2 separate regions of the Homo sapiens genome follow, and region 1 is linked to region 2. Evidence: promoter capture Hi-C in human tissues and cell types (Jung and others, 2019). All regions are on one chromosome and are shown on one strand. The core of a region is centred on a gene start or on the middle of the fragment in contact, and the rest is flanking DNA. Distances in the headings are between cores, read along the strand shown.

Region 1 (2,700 bases), core at 110-2,609, 63 kb after region 2:
ACCATTACTGAGGCTTGAGTAGGCAGTTTTCCCCTCACAGAGTAAACAAAGCCACCAGGAAGTTCAAACTGGGCAGAGCCCAACACAGCTCGGCAAAGCCGCTGTAGCCAGACTGCCTCTCTAGATTCCTCCTCTCTGGGCAGGGCATCTCTGAAAAAAAGGCAGCAGCCCTAGTCAGGGGCTTATAGGTAAAACTCCCATCTCCCTGGGACAGAGCACCTGGGGGAAGGGGCAGCTGTGGATGTGGCTTCAGCCTGCCTGCCGGTTCTGAAGAGAGCAGCAGATCTCCCAGCACAGCATTTGAGCTCTGCTAAGGGTCAGACTGCCTCCTCAAGTGAGTCCCTGATTTCCGTGTCTCCTGACTGGGAGACACCTTCCAGCAGGGGCTGACAGACACCTCATACAGGAGAGCTCTGGCTGGCATCTGGCGGGTGCCCCTCTGGGACAAAGCTTCTAGAGGAAGGAACAGGCAGCAATCTTTGCTGTTCTGCAGCCTCTGCTGGTGATAGCCAGGCAAACAGGGTCTGGAGTGGACCTCCAGCAAACGCCAACAGACCTGCAGCTGAGGGGCCTGATTGTTAGAAGGAAAACTAACAGAAAGGAATAGCATCAACATCAACAAAAAGGACGTCCACTCAGAAGGCCCATCCAAAGATCATCAACATCAAAGACCAAAGGTAGATAAATCCACGAAGATGGGGAGAAACCAGCACAAAAAGGCTGAAAATTCCAAAAACCAGAACACCTCTTCTCCAAAGGATCACAATTCCTCGCCAGCAAGGGAACAAAACTGGACGGAGAATGAGTTTGACAAATTGACAGAAGTAGGCTTCAGAAGGTGGGTAATAACAAACTCCTCCAAGCTAAAGGAGCATGTTCTAACCCCAATGCAAGAAAGGTAAGAACCTTGAAAAAAGGTTATAGGAATTGCTAACTAGATTAACCAGTTTAGAGAAGAACATAAATGACCTGATGGAGCTGAAAAACACAGCACGAGAACGTCATGAAGCCTATACAAGTATCAATAGCCGAATTGATCAAGCAGAAGAAGGATATCAGAGATTGAAGATCAATTTAATGAAATAAAGAATGAAGATGAGATTAGAGAAAAAATAATGAAAAGGAATGAATGAACAAAGCCTCCAAAAAATATGGGACTATGTGAAAAGACCAAACCTATGTTTGATTGATGTACCTGAAAGTGATGGGGAGAATGGAACCAAGTTGGAAAACACTGTTCAGGATATTATACAGGAGAACTTCCCCAACCTAGCAAGAAAGGCCAACATTCAAATTCAGGAAATACAGAGAACACCTCAAAGATACTCCTTGAGAAGAATAACCCCAAGACACATAATCATCAGATTCACCAAGGTTGAAATGAAGAAAAAAATGTTAAGGGCACCCAGAGAGAAAGGTTGGGTTACCCACTATGGGAGGCCCTTCAGACTAACTGCAGATCTCTCTGCAGAAACCCTGCAAACCAGAAGACAGTGGGGGCCAATATTCAATATTCTTAAAGAATTTTCAACCCAGAATTTCATATCCAGCCAAAGTAAGCTTCATACATGAAGGAGAAATAAAATCCTTTATAGACAAACAAATGCTGAGGGATTTTTCTCATCAACAGGCCTGCCTTACAAGGTCTCCTGAAAGGAGCACTAAACATAGAAAGGAACAACTGGAATCAGCAACTGCAAAAACATACCAAATTGTAAAGACCATCGACACTATGAAGAAACTGCATCAACTAATAGACAAAATAACCAGCTAGCATCATAATGACAGGATCAAACTCACACATAACAATATTAACCTTAAATGTAAACAGGCTAAATGCCCCAGTTAAAAGACAAAGACTGGCAAATTGGATAAAGAGTCAAGACCCATTGGTGTGCTGTATTCAGGAGACCCATCTCAAGTGCAAAGACACATAGGCTCAAAATAAAGGGATAGAGGAATATTTACCAAGCAAATGGAAAGCAAAAAAAAATCAGGGGTTGCAATTCTATTCTCTGATAAAACAGACTTTAAACCAACAAAGATCAAAAGAGACAAAGAAGGGCATTACACAATGGTAAAGGGATCAATGCAACAAGAAGAGCTAATTATGCTAAATATATATGCACCTAATACAGGAGCACCCTGATTCATAAAGCAAGTTCTTAGAGACCTACAAAGAGACTTAGACTCCGACATAATAATAGTGGGAAACTTTAACCCCCACTGTCAATATTAGACAGATCAATGAGACGGAAAATTAACAAAGATATCCAAGACTTGAACTCAGCTCTGGACCAAGCAGACCTAATAGACATCTACAGAACTCTCCACCCCAAATCAACAGAATATACATTCTCCTCAGCACCACATCACACTTATTCTAAAACTGACCACATAATTGGAAGTAAAACACTAATTAGCAAATGCAAAAGAACGGAAATCCTAACAGTCTCTCAGACCACAGTGCCATCAAATTAGAATTCAGGATTAAGAAACTCACTCAAGACCGCATAACCTTACATGGAAACTGAACAACCTGCTCCTGAATGACTACTAGGTAAATAACAAAATCAAGGCAGAAATAAATAAGTTCTTTGAAACCAATGAGAACAAAGACATAACATACCAGAATCTCTGAGACACAGCTAAAGCAGTGCTTAGAAGGAAATTTATAGCACTAAATGCCCACAAGGGAAA
Region 2 (2,700 bases), core at 179-2,678:
GGGATTGCTGGGTCAAATGGTATTTCTGGTTCTAGATCTTTCAGGAATTGGCACACTCTCTTCCACAATGGTTGAACCAATTTACATTCCCAACAGTGTAAAAGCATTCATGTTTCTCCACAGCTTTACCAGCATCTGTTGTTTCTGGACTTTTTAATAATCACCATTCTGACTGGCATGAGATGGTATCTCATTGTGGTTTTGATTTGCATTTCTCTGATGATCACTGGTGTTGAGCTTTTTTTCATATGTTTGTTGGCCGCATAAATGTCTTCTTTTGAGAAGTGTCTGTTCATGTCCTTTGCCCACTTTTCAATGGGGTTGTTTGTTTTTTTTCTTGTAAATTTGTTTAAGTTCCTTGTAGATTCTGGATATCAGACCACAAATTTTCTTAATCTGTCTCCAGTGATGGGAAAGCTAAGCTATTTGTCCACTGATTCCCAACGCCCACTGGATGCCAGGGATACTAAATCCCTCGCTCTTTCAAACTGTTATACTTGCAAGCTATACAAGCTCCCTGGGGGCCAGAGAAAACCCACAGCAGAAAATTAGGGACTGATGCTAGAGGTAGGAGGCTGTCAATGTGCATTGGCTATTATTCGGCCATAAAAAGGAATGAACTTCTCACTCACCACTGATGACATGCCTTGCTGCACACACACCCTGCTGCCACCCTGCAGAAATGCTTCCATTACCCACAGTCCTTTGCCAGATGGAACTGATGCCCAGGTAACTGGCTCCTCACCTCCTTCGGGCTTATACCAAGGATATAAAACTTGGTACAGATGCTCAAGCGTTAATGCTTCAGGGTGTGACTTTTAATCCAATGCTGTAGCTGTGACAACAGGGAAAAACGGAGAACAGAGTTGGAGAAGTCCCAAAGTAATGAAAGAAGTTATTTACTGTTGCAAAATCAAACGACTTAAAGGATAAATGTAACTGATCTTTACATACGAAAGAAGAGAGAGGGAAGTGAAGGGCGGGGAGAAAGAGACTCAGACAGACAGAGACTCCCTGAGAAAAAGACAGGCACAGAGTAAAAGACATACAGATGCACAGAAAAGAGAAGAAACAGAGTGAGAAAAATAAAACATAAGAATAGACATGTCAGGAGAAGAGTGAAATTAGAAAGAAGGAAGAGAGCTAGCATACTGTTAACCTGCAAACTCCCCCTGGGAAATGGAAGACTCTGGAGTTAAACCTCCCCTTCTGCTAAGGGAGCCTGGAAAGCCCAAGACAACATGTGCCCTCTTTCCCTGGTAGACCAGAAAGCCTCAGATTGCTGAGGATTAGGAGCCACCTATCCCCCAGTGTAGGTACCAGGTAGTCCCACTGATGGCCTCAGGGATCTGGTGTTCCTGATCGGGGAGTCTGGCTGGCTTGTCTCCAGGGCTGTCTCTTAAGGTGCTGGGCCACACCGGGGCAGGCAAAGTGCAGATGTAGGAGCTGCTGAGGAGCAGTTCTTAGTTTTGGTGCCATCAACCAGGCCAGTACTTCCTAAAATGGGACTCTCAGGACTTCTGCCAATCCTGGTACCATTCATCCTTTTGGGGGACATCCAGGAACCTGGGCACGCTGAAGGCATCCTTGGCAGTAAGTATTGGGAACTCCGTCCTTGCAATGGGGAAAGGAAACTCAGTGGGGAGGAAGGAACAAAGAATAATTTTGCAGCTGAGAAATTATTTTCTCCACCTCTGCCTGGAATTCCAGGTGGGAAAGAGGGGAGCTATTTGAAGTCTCTTGGTAAGAGACTCCCTTGGTGAATACAGGCATCCAAATCTGTGGCAAGTGACTCCTTGCTGCCATTCCAAAGAGTTCTTCCTGGAGGTGCCTGGACCTAGAGCTCATGAAATGAACTAAGAAGGAGTAGTAAGCCCAAGGAAGTCTCCCACAAGAAAAACAGGCTGCTCCCCACAACACCACCTGTGTCAACTTCCAAATGTTCTCATTGCAGCCCCCACACCCATACCCACAGAGGACCCTGGTCTTTGGGTTAAAGAATGGTCTCCAGAAGTCCCTTGGAATGCTGAAATGTGAAGACTCACAATTAGCAGCTAACTGTACTGGGCACTGAAAATTAGTGGTTGAAAGTGAGCACTCAGGAGCCACACATTGTAGGTTCAAACCTGGCTCCACCCCTGAGTAGCTGTGTGATCTTGGGCAAATTCACATAATCTCCTTATGCTTCCAATTCTTCTGTTTACAAAATGTGAATATTAAGAGTACTTACCCATAGATTTGTAATGAGGATTAAGGAGAAAAGGCAGCTCACAGTAAGTGCTTCATCCATATTACTCATTGTTACGTTACATTGCCCCAGGCAGTTTGACGATGGCTTGTCAAACTGTGTTGCTGGTTAGTCTTCAAAGCAACCCTATGGGCAAATGAGGAAATCAAGGCTCAGAGAGAGTGCCTGGCACACCAAGCGTCTCACAGAATTCAAAAGCCCAGCTATCTGATGCCAGAAATGTTAATCTCAATCATCGAGAGCCACAGCACCTCCTGGGGGAGCAACCAAGCACAGCAAGGCTGAGTGACCAGAACAGTCTTAGAGGAATGCGTCTTTCTCTCAGGAATCTCATAGATGGTGCGGGTAGGGGGTAGGGGTTGGTTTAGGCATCCGATGGTGAGTTGTTATGGGGTTGGGGATGTGAGCAGTGTTGTGAAATTCCTGAGCCCCCTGAGGGCCACTACCTTCTG

What was found. The method cuts DNA at HindIII sites, captures the fragments that hold promoters and counts their contacts. A contact is called where the count stands out against the background at its distance.
Region 1: a contact is called between a fragment that was not itself captured here and the fragment with the promoter of WFDC6 in region 2, in 1 of the 25 tissues and cell types used here (H1 embryonic stem cells).

Annotation. Positions count from the first base shown.
Region 1 is chr20:45,475,297-45,477,996 of GRCh38, reverse strand. All of the region lies in intron 2 of WFDC2 (WAP four-disulfide core domain 2), which reads right to left. Among named protein-coding and RNA genes, the nearest start is that of WFDC2, 6.9 kb to the right of the region's middle. The HindIII fragment of the contact is 2,290 bases long and covers 215-2,504 here.
Region 2 is chr20:45,538,210-45,540,909 of GRCh38, reverse strand. It overlaps WFDC6 (WAP four-disulfide core domain 6), which reads left to right and starts at 1,428. Exons shown (of 3, transcript NM_080827.2): 1 at 1,428-1,593. The coding sequence starts at 1,503. The region is part of intron 3 of EPPIN-WFDC6 (EPPIN-WFDC6 readthrough); the gene reads left to right. It overlaps EPPIN (epididymal peptidase inhibitor), which reads left to right. Exons shown (of 4, transcript NM_020398.4): 4 at 1-284. LOC107987282 (a long non-coding RNA gene) reads right to left here. Exons shown (of 4, transcript XR_001754641.3): 3 at 2,231-2,374; 4 at 523-835. It also overlaps the pseudogene HSPD1P21. The HindIII fragment of the contact is 28,992 bases long and covers 1-2,700 here.